Linked DNA regions of Homo sapiens: region 2 is linked to region 1. Evidence: promoter capture Hi-C in 16 types of primary human blood cells and fetal thymus (Javierre and others, 2016). All regions are on one chromosome and are shown on one strand. Each heading gives the region's core, a stretch centred on a gene start or on the middle of the fragment in contact. The rest is flanking DNA. Distances are from core to core; before and after follow the strand shown. Region 1 holds the start of FMR1-AS1 (FMR1 antisense RNA 1). Region 2 overlaps HMGB3 (high mobility group box 3).

What was found. Contacts are between HindIII fragments. The CHiCAGO score rates a contact against its expected background, and 5 or more counts as called.
Region 2: a contact is called between a fragment that was not itself captured here and the fragment with the promoter of FMR1-AS1 in region 1, in 2 of 17 cell types (non-activated CD4 T cells and total CD4 T cells). The highest score is 6.6, in non-activated CD4 T cells.

Annotation. Positions count from the first base shown.
Region 1 is chrX:147,907,957-147,914,855 of GRCh38, reverse strand. FMR1-AS1 (FMR1 antisense RNA 1) reads left to right here and starts at 3,039. Exons shown (of 2, transcript NR_024503.3): 1 at 3,039-3,214; 2 at 3,861-5,425. It overlaps FMR1 (fragile X messenger ribonucleoprotein 1), which reads right to left and starts at 2,937. Exons shown (of 17, transcript NM_002024.6): 1 at 2,626-2,937. The coding sequence starts at 2,676. RefSeq lists enhancers at 2,517-2,616, 3,197-3,406 and a silencer at 2,777-3,116. The HindIII fragment of the contact is 5,224 bases long and covers 531-5,754 here.
Region 2 is chrX:150,985,561-150,992,060 of GRCh38, reverse strand. It overlaps HMGB3 (high mobility group box 3), which reads right to left. Exons shown (of 5, transcript NM_005342.4): 2 at 6,312-6,466; 3 at 5,871-6,010; 4 at 4,759-4,933; 5 at 1,290-4,284. The coding sequence starts at 6,461. The coding sequence ends at 4,147. Among named protein-coding and RNA genes, the nearest start is that of HMGB3, 5.5 kb to the right of the region's middle. The HindIII fragment of the contact is 4,865 bases long and covers 1,982-6,500 here.

The DNA.
Region 1 (6,899 bases), core at 1,790-4,289:
TGGGGCAGATGCACCTAGAATAAAGACTTTATTTCATCATTATTCATTTAGAAAATACTTTGTAAAGATTTTATGAGGTGTAAGTCAAAGTGCCTTCATATCTTAACACCTGCAGGGCACTATAAAGTGGTACACGTGACCAATTTTTTCTAAGTCAAACAAATACCTAAGCATAAAAGTAGTGGCTCTGGTGATCGCTAAATCTAACTTTTAAGTTTTTAAGAATAAACACCAGAAGATAGAGAGCTGTCCTTGCAAATATGGTGGTTATGTTAGGCAAATCAAAGTCTGAATTCCATTATACTCAAGTTGTTTGATTTGTTTAGTTTTAAAAGCTTTTCTATCAATTTGATGAACAAGGTTCCTATTTCTTTTTCCATAAATGTAACACTTCTCCACAGCAGTTCATTTTTCATTGGTTTTTATTTCACATCTTTCCTGTCCATCCCACTGGACAAGCAACTCAGTTTACTTTTGCTTTACTTTTAAAACTCACAGCAGTATTATAAGTCATATAAAAATTTCAAGCTTTTTTGTTACAGAAACTGTTCTTCCATCAGTGCAGACCATTTGAGATTTTCTTAGAAATCAAACTTAATTAAATAAACATAACAGCAATTTGTCTGACACACACTTGTTCAAGTATTAACATTTCTCCTCAGGGAACTAAGGGGCAACCAACCTATTCTTCATTCACCTTCAAGTTAAACAACTTCGTTACAAAACAAAACAAAAAAGGAGGGAATTAATAGCAAAAATAGAAGGCATTTCTTATATTCCAGTCAGTGTGCAAGCAAAATCACTGGAGCAAATCATAAGTTGCTGGAAGAGAACAATAAGTACTTCAAGGCCATAATGTGCTACTTGCCCTCTGTGATAAGCAAACTTTAGTGGCATCCAATCTAAGTTTATATCACAGGTCAATCAAAATCTTGCCTAACCATTAGCCGTTACTCACACATATATATGTATATGTATTATAGTTATTAGTGCCAGAAATCTAGTGACCAAAACCACTAATCTAGGACCGTGAACGATTCTACGCAAACTCACCAGAAGAAATTATGGATCAATAAAATCAATGAAATTAAAATTTTGACTGCAGAGTCAACTGAAACAATTTCATATTCATGAGACTGTTAAGAACATAAACGCGGGGTTACCTTTTGCCTCCTTTTACAGCAAAAGGCTTTATCTTTGTGCTCAAAGTATGGAACAGTTTACATACTTTACTCATTTATGAAATATACTGATCTCCAAATGTCTTCATAAAATTGGTAAACACAGAATAAAGTCAATTGTTTATTTTCCTATAGCCAAACGTGTCCTGTCTGAAACATTCAAGCCATTCTACAATACATTTAAGAATTGTGTTGGACACTGCTAATAGCTATTTTCCAGCCTTCCTTCCACACGCACCTTCTATTGCCAAAATACTGTAGTAAGGTGGGATATTATTGAAAGAGGTTATAGACATTCAAAAGGAAATGAGAATTTATAGATGAATTTATACAGCACCTACATACCAACAAACGCACTACTGCTACATCAAATTTGTAAATCTTCCTTTTAAAACTGAAAGGTGTTAGTTGATCTGCAATGGTGTAACTTTAAAAAGCACAGTAAACCCATGAATGCCTATATAAAGCCTCAACAATTCAGTCCACTGCAACACCACAAATTCAAAGGAAATGTGGTCAAGTTCTTAGGGGCACAAAAATATTTTCGCTCAGTTAAAAAAAAAATGCCCTAGTAATAATATACTCTCAGTTAATTACCTGAAGTTTCATGGCATATATTTAGGTCTTTGGAAACTTAAACACACACACACAATTTTTAAGTAGCAGCGCTGCTAATGGTTTTAGACGCTGAAGCATGTGCATTCCTGAATTTACCCCGTTTAACAAAAAGGGGGACGCGAATATTCACGATGATCAACTTCTTCAATGCACTGCTGGGCCATGTTAGGGTCTTCCTGAAACTTTTGGATCTAAAATCTCCTCCGAAATCCACAAAGAGAAGCCACTAAAAATCAGTTGCCATTGTGATTTGGTGCCGACTACCGCTTCTTACTACTCTTTCTTCACAGCCCTCGCCCAGAACAGTGGAGCTCTCCGAAGTCCCAATGCTAGACCGGAAAAGAGAAGCCAAAGGAGACCTGAAGCCCTCTTGGCGCTGCAGGAGGCGGCCCGGCTGAAGCGCCCCCCGCTCCTCCACAACTACCCACACGACAGGCCCGGATCCCGCTGGGAGATGATGTTTAGGAAAGGGGGAATAAGCCATCGCCGTCACTTAGCGCCGATTTCGGCCCTTCCCGCCCGGCTCTAGTACCTGCCGCCGGCCCTCGCCCATCCCCAGCTCACCCCGGCGGGGCTCGGCGCCGAAAGAGAACCCTCTCCTCGCTGGTCTCTCATTTCGATAGGCGCTAGGGCCTCTCGGAGTCGGAGAGGGGCTTCCAACAGGCCCCAAGTCCAGTCCTTCCCTCCCAACAACATCCCGCCGAGCGTGCCCTGGCACCCAGGCGCGGTGCTCGGGAAGAGGGCCCCGGGCCTGCCTCCCGCCGACACCAAGAAGAAAAGGGAGGGAAGGAAGGGCGAAGATGGGGCCTGCCCTAGAGCCAAGTACCTTGTAGAAAGCGCCATTGGAGCCCCGCACTTCCACCACCAGCTCCTCCATCTTCTCTTCAGCCCTGCTAGCGCCGGGAGCCCGCCCCCGAGAGGTGGGCTGCGGGCGCTCGAGGCCCAGCCGCCGCCGCCGCCGCCGCCGCCGCCGCCTCCGCCGCCGCCGCCGCCGCCGCCGCCGCCGCGCTGCCGCACGCCCCCTGGCAGCGGCGCCTCCGTCACCGCCGCCGCCCGCGCTCGCCGTCGGCCCGCCGCCCGCTCAGAGGCGGCCCTCCACCGGAAGTGAAACCGAAACGGAGCTGAGCGCCTGACTGAGGCCGAACCCCCGGCCCGCTGCGGGTGTAAACACTGAAACCACGTCACGTGATCAACGCTGTTCCCTCCCCCCGCGGGCTCAGCCCCTCGGCCCCGCCCTCTCTCTTCAAGTGGCCTGGGAGCGCGCGCATGCGCGCTGCTGGGAACCGGCCGGGGTGCCGGGTCGAAAGACAGACGCGCGGGCCGGGCGTGCGCGGGCTTGGTGGAGGGCGGGAAGGCTGAAGGGCGGTGACAGGTCGCACTGCCTCGCGAGGGCCAGAACGCCCATTTCTGCAGAGGTGCACTCAGTGGCGTGGGAAATCAAATGCATCCGGTTATCCCAGTTCGGCCTCTCTGGGATTCCGCGGGAGGGGGTGTCTGGTCTGGTTTGGTTTGGTTTGGTTTGGTTTGGTTTGGTCCGGTTCAAAGTAGCGCAGTCTGACTGAGCGGGAGGTGGAGTGGAAGGCGAGAATAGGGGTGAAGGATTAGACAGAAGAAGACTTTGAACTAGGAACAGTGGCAACCAGGGTGACCCAGGCTTTTGTGACCCGTAGAGGCAGAAGGTGAGGCGTCTACGCCCTCTCTCACCAGATTTTGGGCGGCCCTGTGGAGACACCCTGTGCCCTTTAAGGGACATGGATTGAGTCGGGATCTCAAAATGTGAGCCTTTCCTCAGACCCAGCTTTGACCCACGTACTCGCCTTTCCTCAACTCATTTTCATACTTTCACTTGACTATATATTTTTTAAAAATTGTGTTAAGCACTTGAGGTTCATTTCTGCCCCTACTGTATGTGCACCCTGTGCCAGAGGGTGGGGTGAACACGTGTGTAGCAGTCATGCGTCCTGTCCACAGGGGCCGATGCACCTCCTTGCAACCCTTTACATTCCACTGTGAAACAAACCTCAACTTTTTCTTATTCCTGTTTTTACACCGTGCTTATAGCTGCCTTAATCCATGTTCCCTTCGGGATGCTGGTATCCAACTGAGAAGTTGACGGAGCATCTATCGTGTGCCAGACACTGTGCTAAGTGCTAACGAGAAATCGGTGAGCAAAACAGAAAAGAAAAAAAAAGAAGAAACGACTGCCAGCATTGAACTTAGTACCTAGCAAAGTAGGTGGACATAAATCAAATTGTCAGACAAGTAAATGAGTAGTTGCAGCTGTGATAAGGGGTATGAAGAATAGGCGCTTCCATGATGGCGGAACATGACCTAGTCTGGGGTGGAGAAGGGGAGATGATTCCAGCTGGAATATGGCAGGTGAGAGTTAACTAATAGCACTGAGTTGGCAGAGGCAGGATGACCTGCCCCAGGCAGGTGCCCCAGAATGAGAGGATGTTGCTGCTGGTGGAACTCCAGCTTTAAAGCGGTGGATCTAGGGCCACATTCCTCAAGGCCATAGCAAACAGGAAAGACCTTTTGGACTAGGGTCTTTGGAGTAGTCACATGAGGCCAAGAACCCAATAGGGCTGAAAGAGAATCTCATCATAGGCTGAATGGGAGCAGAGCATTAGCTGCAACTCCAATGTATTATAGTAAAAGGGGACACATTGATTAGAATGATTATACCCCTCCAAGTGTAAGCTGTTGTTCAATTTACCCAGGGCTTAAAAATATGTCAACTCTTCACAACCATTTTTACTACAAGCCACACTCAACCTGTGTTGTTCCCTGAACCTGTGATGCACTTTCATCCGTTCATGTCTCTACACATCCTTCCTGGGCCCCATAGAGGCCCTGCACCTTAAGGTTTTCAGCTGGATTCCTATTAGCTAGTTATTTTATCTCAGGTACAGAGAGTTAACTTTGCTCCTCAATTTTCAGCACATTGTCATATCAGTCCCTACAGGGTCCTTGTTTACATTATTTTATAGTGTTTATATTATTTTTTCCTCATCTTTCTCGATCCCCACTCTCATTCTTCTAGACACAAGCTGCAATATGTTCGATAGAGATCCTTGATAATTTAACACAGATAATGTTTTGTTTATGCCTCTTGCATTTACAGAGATGGTATTGGACTGTAAATCTCTATTTCCCACTGTTTTACTCAACAGTCTGTTTTTGAGCTATACCCACATTGCTGTGTGTACACCTAGTTTGCTACCGAGTATGCCAGAAATTTTATTCATACATATCCCTACTGATCGGGCATCTAGGTTACTGCCAACTCCCTGAAGTCATACTGTGGTGAAAACCCTTGTGAATGTCTTTACAAACCTTTGCCAGAACTTATTTTGTGCTCTTGTAGAACTTTGTGCATACCCTCTGCTTCCTCATTACACTGCTTGGCATATAGCAGAGACTCAACAAATGTTGAATACCTCTACTATGATGGTTAGTGTACTAGAATAATTTATTTATATTTCTGTTTTCCTTATTGGATTATTAGTACCTTCCAGACAGGGCAAATGTCTTTTCTATCTTTGTGTCCCTGGCACATTAAAAGTGGTTGATTTCAAGGTATGTTCAATGAATGAATAAATACTTATCTTCACTGCCAGTACATACTGCAACTTAGTCTTCCCCACTTGACTCTGAGTCTCAGCCTTACTCTGATCTCTAGCTTTTGATATTTCCCCTTTCAAGATAGCTTACCTGAATTCAGACACTGAGCTCAGGCCTGATCATGAGCCTGCTCTTCCAAAGTCCTCTCTCTCTCTCTCTCTTTCTCTCCTGTCTCTCGTTACAGGCAGCTCCTGCCTTCCAGTTCGTTGCTCAAGCCTAAAACTGAGACATTTTGACCCTCTTTCACACATCAGATCCATCAGCAAATCATTGTAGAATCCAGACTCTGTTTCTGATCATTTGCTCAGCTAAAACCATAGTCCAAGCTTCCATTCTCTTACCTGCATTATGGCAGCAACTTCTTCGCTGGTATCCCTGCAGTCACTGTCCACTGTTGTACCCTCTCTGACAGTTCTCAGCACAGAAGACAGAATGACCCTGTTGAGGTGTCAATCAAGTCACTCTGCCACTCACAATCCCCCAGTGACTCCCTACATCTCTCAGAGTAAAAGCCAGAGTCATTATTTATTCTGGCTTCAGTGCCCTATATACTCTGACTTCTGTTATCTCCGCTATCTCACCTTCTACTTTCCCCCTTCACTTCATTCCAGTGCATGAAATCTATCTAGTTCACCTAGATTTTCTCCTATGTTATCTTTCAGAAGTTTTACAGTTTTGTGTTTTGCATTTAGGTCTATGATCCATTTTGAGTAAATTTTTTTCAAAAGATATAAGGTCTGTATCTAGATTATTTTTTGCATATGAATGTCCAGTTATTCCAGCACTGTTTATTGAAAAGGCCATTGTTTCTCATTCCAGCCATAATGTTTTCTTTGTTGTTTCTTGAAAATAGCAGACAGGTTCTGTCTCTCTCCCCTCACTAGAGTGTAAGCTCAGTGAGAACAAAGATTTCCATTTGTTTTATTCACTGCTTGTCCCCAGTGCCTACCACAGTGTCTGGAACATAGTGAATGTTTACTAAATATTACATGAATGAACGAATATGTGTTGAGGACCCGGCCGAGGTTGAGTCAGCTCTCATGCCTATATTTATCTGATATTGGAATGATGCTTCAGTGTTTCTAGCCCTGCCTTGGCCCTTGGTTTCCATTAAATTGCTGCCTGTTGTCTTTGCATTGATTTATTCTGTGCTATTTCCTGCTCCTTCGCAATTTGAGCCCTCTGAGTCTTTTCCATGGCTCAAACCCAGCTGAAATGCCTTCTGCCCTTTCCGACTCTCAAATCTTATGTACCCTTCAGGACCCAGCTAAAGTCACACTTCTTTCTTGACACTTTCTCTGACAATTTCCTTTAACCATGACCTCTCATTCAAATGAGATATTAGAAAAAGAATAATTAATTGGCTTTATTTTTTAGAACAGTTTTACATTTATGGAAAAATTAAGCAGATAGTGGAGAGAGTTTCTATGTACTTCCTAATCTCCCTCCTCCCCTACAGTTCCTCCTGTTATT
Region 2 (6,500 bases), core at 3,165-5,664, 3.1 Mb before region 1:
CAAGAAATGTGAATCCTCCAACTGTTTTCAAGATTGATCTGGGTATCTCCTGCATCTCTTGAATTTCTATATGACATTTAGAATCAGCCTGATTTCTACTAGAGGAAGCCAGCTGGGATTCTAATAGAGATTGCGTTCTAGATCAATTTCAGGAGTATTGCCATCTTAACAATATTAAACCTTCCCATTCATGAACGTGGAATGTCTATTTCCTTAGGTCTTTAATGTTTTGTACTTTTCCCCATGTAAGTTTTGCACTTATATTGTTCATTCCTAAATATTTTATTCTTTTTGATGTTATTGTAGATATTTAAGAGAATGTTTTCTTAGTTTCAGATTGTTCATGGCTGGTATATAGAAATACTAGTTTTTGTATGTTAATCTTGTATACTGCAGATGATCAATTCATTTTTCTAGCAGTTTTATTTGGAGATTCCTTACGGTTATCTGTATACAAGGTCATATCATCTACAAATAGACATAGCTTTGTCTTCTCAATTTCAGTCTGGATGTTTTCTTTTTCTTTTGCCTAATTGCCCTGGCTAGAACTTCTAGTACAATCATGAATAAACCCATGGGTTTTCCTAAACGTCCTATATCAGGTTGAGGAAGTTCCCTTCTACCCTTGTTTTTATCATGAAAGTGTTTGTCAAGGTTTTTGTGTCTATTGAGATGATCATGTGTGTCTTTTTCCTTTTATTGATATGGTATCCCAGCTTCTTTTGAAAGCTGAAATCGTAGGATGCCCAACATATAAAACAGGGTGGGAGGCTGCTCTGGTTGAAGCAGTAAGGGAAGCTTGGGGCCGCCAAGCTGGCTCAATGGCCTTTCCTTACCAGGTAGCCTTGGGCTCCACAGAAAACTGAGCTGGGAGCCAAGAACAGCAAGCGGTCCCTGTGGCTCTCCTCCAGAACTCCTTGTTGGGCATGGCTGAGTCAGCCAACTAAGCCCAGACCCTTGGCCTCGAGGAGCCCTGTGGGCAGGGCTGGCTGATTACAAGTACCCAACCACTTTATCAAATAGTAGCTCGTTAGCATCCTGCAAATTGCCTATTTATCCTGGTCCAGGGCTTCAGAGCCAACTCCCCCTTATGCCTCGGGCCAGGAGGTTGATCTTGGGGCTTTGGAGTCCTTAACACTTAAGTCATTTTGATGGTATCATTCCACTAAATGTTAGTAGTTCAGATCTATGGTTACCACAAAGTTTGCACTTCTAAAACCTTGATGATAATCAACCAAAAGTACAGAGGTTCAGTATCTCAGACAGATCGCAGACAGCCCACTGATTACTTTTTGGGAAGAGTGATTAAGAAACTTTATTACAGAAAATGAATGCATCCAACGTCCCCAAATACATTTGTGACAAGAACAGACACACACAGGAGACACAGACAATAGTCACTACATCACAGCCTTGTTCTTTCCGAAGGATAAAATGTCATTCAAGAATGGGGTGAGGTGGTTAGAGGGAGTAGGTACTATCCTTTTAAATGGGGGAAAAAAAAAAAAAAAGCAACAGGTTGGCATCTTAAGAACACAGACAGTGGGCCCAGAAATCAAGCTAAGCCTAAGCCTTAGGTAACATCATGCCACTTACATCATCTCAGAGAAACTAGGGCATTATTCCACTAGAAGAGCAATCTTGCCACAGTGTGAAAACGTTGAGTAGTGATCTTGCTGCCCCAGCTAATGGACCAAGTGGCCTCAACTTGACAGCCTCTTTAAAACTCAATGTTTGCCTAATCAAAGATCATCTGGCTAAACTGCTCCCCCACTTCTGCTTAGCTACTTTGGAAGCACAAAAGTTACCCCTTTCCATCCTTGGCCCTTCCCTGGTTGGTACATCTAGTTATGAGATAGACGCGCACCACTTAACAAATCACTCCCTTTTGACCGCAGGTTGTTTCTCTTCCATATTTGACGAGGCTGGCAACAGCTCCCGAATCTTGGCCTAGCACATCACGAATTGGGAAGCTAAAGCTTTAGCTTAGAATGCCAAGTGACAAGGACATGGCTGAAGCAGGAGGGGAAATTCTGGAACAAGTGCCTCTGGGCAAACCTCACAACCGAGTTTTTTAAATTAGTGGTCATTTTCTAGAACTAGAGGAACACATTCAGGACAAACAGTTCTGATGGGAGAGCGAATGGCTATGAACACATAAGAGATCAGGCTGTGACCGTGACCATAACTCGTACTCATCCAGGACCCGACAGGGCGGAGAGGACACCGCCTCCAGACATGCAAGTTTCTCAACAGTGAATTTTAAGAAAAAGCTGCTTTCTCTTAAAATTAATAGCACAAAAACACTCCTGCGTGTTTCATAGCCTCAAACATACACACCCAAATATTAATGCTGGGCAATAGCAACACTCACCCACAACACAGTACTGTATCCTTCATTGCTACGGACAGTAATGATGTATATACACATCAGCCTTCAAAATGGTATTTAGTGTCACCACTTGCTACTGTGGCCATCTCCCCTCACCCCAACCTGGATAAAATGTTACACTACCCACTAATATAACCACTGACACACAAACCAAGCTCCTTCCAGTTTAACATTGAACATCAATCTACATTTCCAGTGAATGAGCTAAACTTATGAGCAGGCCATTCAACTTTTCATGATACATTTAGTGCTCAGAAATGGTTGATTCCATTAGCCTGCCCTATAGCTCAGGTGGCCCAAGATGGAGCCTATCATCTTCCTTGGGGTGTTTGGTGTTTCCAAGTAGGAGCAAAAAAAGGATACCGTCCCCTACCCCACCACCCCATCCCACATACCCTCACTGGCATCCAGGAGACCAGCAGCAGGCTCAAGACCCCAAATGTTGGGCACCACAAATAATGTGATATGTGCCAGGAGCACGGGGGGTAGGGGTGAAAGAGAAAAACAATAAGGCCTTAATTTTTGACACACCATACACTCTGAAATTGCTGTTTAGCAATGCATTTGGCCCCACAAAATAGGGGGTGGAGGTGGGACAAAAGTTAAACCTAGATAGCCTCAGTCCTAATCACCCACCTTCCTATACCTTGGAAGGCTGCTGAACCTTGCCTATGTCGTTCTCCTAACTCCTCCAGACTTCATCTGAATGCCACTCAGACACAAACAAAATCACACAGTAGCTTCAAGTAGCCCTCTCCTTCATCTCAGCCCTAAGTGAGCTGGCCACTGAGTAATAAAAGAAGCTACCACATTTATAGGGAGGCCAGTCTCCAAATACAATGGAGTGGGGGTTTGTTCACTGCTGTGAGTCAGAAATTGACTGTTATAATAGAGAAGAGTTTTAAAAATGTAATACTGTTTATTTAACTTCAAAAACATTTCAGCATTCTAAACATACAAAAAAAATAACAGAACGTTGCGAATCGTGTTTAAGTACAGGAGGTTCTTGAACTTTCATTGATGCAGTGACTCTTTGCTTTGCTGACAATGAAGAGTTCTATAGTTTGTTTAAAAACAAACAGTTTAAAAACTACCGCACTTAAAAAAAAAAAATATTCTCATGCCAGCTGACCCCCCTTTGTCCACAGCTAAGATGGCAGCAGAATGCTATGTCACTATATACAGAAACAAGACAACCTGAAGCTAAATGGATGCCCCCTGCAGAGTCAACAGGTCCAGCCTCACAGTGCACGCCCTGAGCTACAGCCTCTCCCAAAAGGCATCTTCCCCACAGCCTCAACGCCGAGCAAGGAGCATCAAGGGTTTGTCTCGGTTGTTTTGTTCTTTTTACAAACTATAGATATATACAGTTGAAAACTCAGGATTTCTAGCCAATAACCATAGTTACCACCACCTTACAAATAAAAAGAAAATGCCAGAAACATCTTTAAATGCCTTGTCACACCAACAGCAAAGTGCACAGAGTGAGGAGAACACGAGAGTGCCTTTTCATTTTAAAAATGTTTGGAAATATGTACAACTTTGATACAGTTTCAGGGTGCTCCAGACACCCATGGCCACTTCATGTAAACCACTGACAATTTCTAGAGCACTTTGAGAGACTACAATATGATCGTGATCAAATTTTGTAATTAAACCTAATGAGGGCAACAGACACTTCTCAAATAAGAGATGTGTCAATTACGGCGCTCCCCTACTCTAAGTATTCACAAGGAGACAGATAAACAGTTTCTTTATTCATCCTCCTCCTCCTCCTCCTCCTCTTCTTCCTCCTCCTCTTCTTCATCTTCCTCTTCCACCTTTTTCCGGGCAACTTTAGCAGGACCCTTTGCACCATCAAACTTTCCTTTCGACTTATAGTCAGCAACATCCTAGAGGAACAGGGACACATTTCAAATGAGTATGCGGCTGTTTTAACACAAAGTAGAAACATGCAGTCCTCATCTCAGGTAAGAGGACAGGAATTGAAATCAAGTAAGACAGTGCTGCTATCATATATATCTGAAGTGTTTCCATATATGAATTTGGTTCTTAGCCATTCGAATTTAAAAGTTAGTGGGTGTTCAAGTGTCCTTCAAGTCACATTAGTAGGACTATCAAATCCTCTGTTAACATTTTTTTTTCCTTAAAGAGTAAGGAAAATTTTTCAAGCCTGAAGTTGTCCCCAAAACAAAGACCTGTCAAAAAAAAGCATGAACACCAGCACCCGTAGCTACCTTGCAGGGGGATGGGCCCTTGAGCGCTATGCTAAGTACTCAGCCCAGCAAAGCTGCCACATGCCCTGCAACCTACTGATAGCAGAACCACTGCCTGTTCACCAGTCCAGGCTTCCAGCCCCACCTTACCTTCTCATACTTCTCCTTCAGCTTTGCCGCCTTAGTGATGTAAGGCTGCTTTTCACTGTCATTTAAATTATTCCACATCTCACCCAGCTTTTTTGCCACGTCTCCAATAGAGATGCCGGGGTTTGTGGATTTGATCTTGGGGCGGAATTCTGAACAGAACAGGAAGAATCCAGACCTTGGAAGAATTACATACATTACATGAGAAACCACAAAAAATTTGAGTTAAAGTTGAAATCCCACATTCCTGAGAAGCATCTCCCTCCTACCACTATGACTTCTCCCTAAAGTGAAGTAATCTATGATACCATATACAATGCTACAAAGTTGTAGGTTCTAAAATATATAAGGTTAGAAAAATATGTGGTGCGCGGCTCACGCCTGTAATTCCAGCACTTTGGGAGGCCGAGGCAGGCGGATCACCTGAGGTTGGGAGTTTCAGACCAGCCTGACCAACATGGAGAAACCCCGTCTCTACTAAAAATATAAAAAAAATTAGCCGGGCATGGTGGTGCATGTCTGTAATCCCAGCTACTCAGGAGGCTGAGGCAGGAGAATCACTTGAACCCAGGAGGTGGAGGTTGCAGTGAGCCAAGATCACACCTTGCACTCCAGCCTGGTCAAGAGCGAAACTCCATCTCAAATATGTATGCGTGTGTGTGTGTATGCATATATAAAATATATGCGTATATATACGCGCATATATATATGGTGCTCTGTGTGTGTGTATGCATATATAATACATATGCGTATATATACGCGCATATATATATGGTGCTGTCCCAGTCTTTCAATTACTAGGAAAGGCATAAAGAACATACTTCAAGGACCCTGACAACCAAAACTAGAGTGCCTCCTTCACAATGGAAAGGCCAACAGACAACCACTGTGAATGTGCAAGCACAGCCCACAAACACTTCAGCCTTAACCACAGACAACGCTGGCACTGCATCGTAAAGCCCAAGTACAGAATGGTTTGCAGAGGTATTGCCATCTTTTAAGTATCTTTTAAAAAATATTTCATTTTGAAATGAAATACAGGACGACCAAAAAACCAAATCCTCCAAGCAGAAGAAAAGGTATTAATTGTTATCTTGAATCCTATAGTCACTTACGGTGGCCTTTTGGGAGCATTAGGATCCTTCTTCTTCTTGCCTCCCTTAGCTGGTCCATAATCCTTCATTTCCCGATCATAGCGCACTTTATCTGCCTTTGCCATTTCATCAAATTTAGATTTCTCTTTCCCGGACATCGTCTGCAAAGAACAGGACTCGTTAAATCCCTCGATGCAGTGAACACATACCTATTCAGTTTCTTGTGATTAAACTAGCAGTTGCTAGAACCACTTGCAAAAGGGGGTAGGTAAAGGCCTGAAACCTGTGCAGGGCCTTAAAAAAATAAAAGCACACACACAAAATTCTTAAGACAAGCAAAAATGATTCTAAGTAAAAGTAAAAGAGGAAGCAAGCAGCTATCTGGGAGAAAATCTGAAGGTAAGTAACCCCAAAGTAAGAAACCCAACTAAGACTAGTTTGAAGGGTACCAAAGAAAAATACCTTCCACCTCTCAGAGCACTTCTTGGAAAATTCCGCAAAATTGACAGGGACCTCTGGGTTTTTCTTCTTATGTTCTTCTCTGCATGTCTGCACAAAGAAGGCATAAGCGGACATCTTGCCCTTTGGTTTCTTGGGGTCACCTTTAGCCATCCTGACTGTGATAAAAGAGAAACAAAGAAATACAATGAG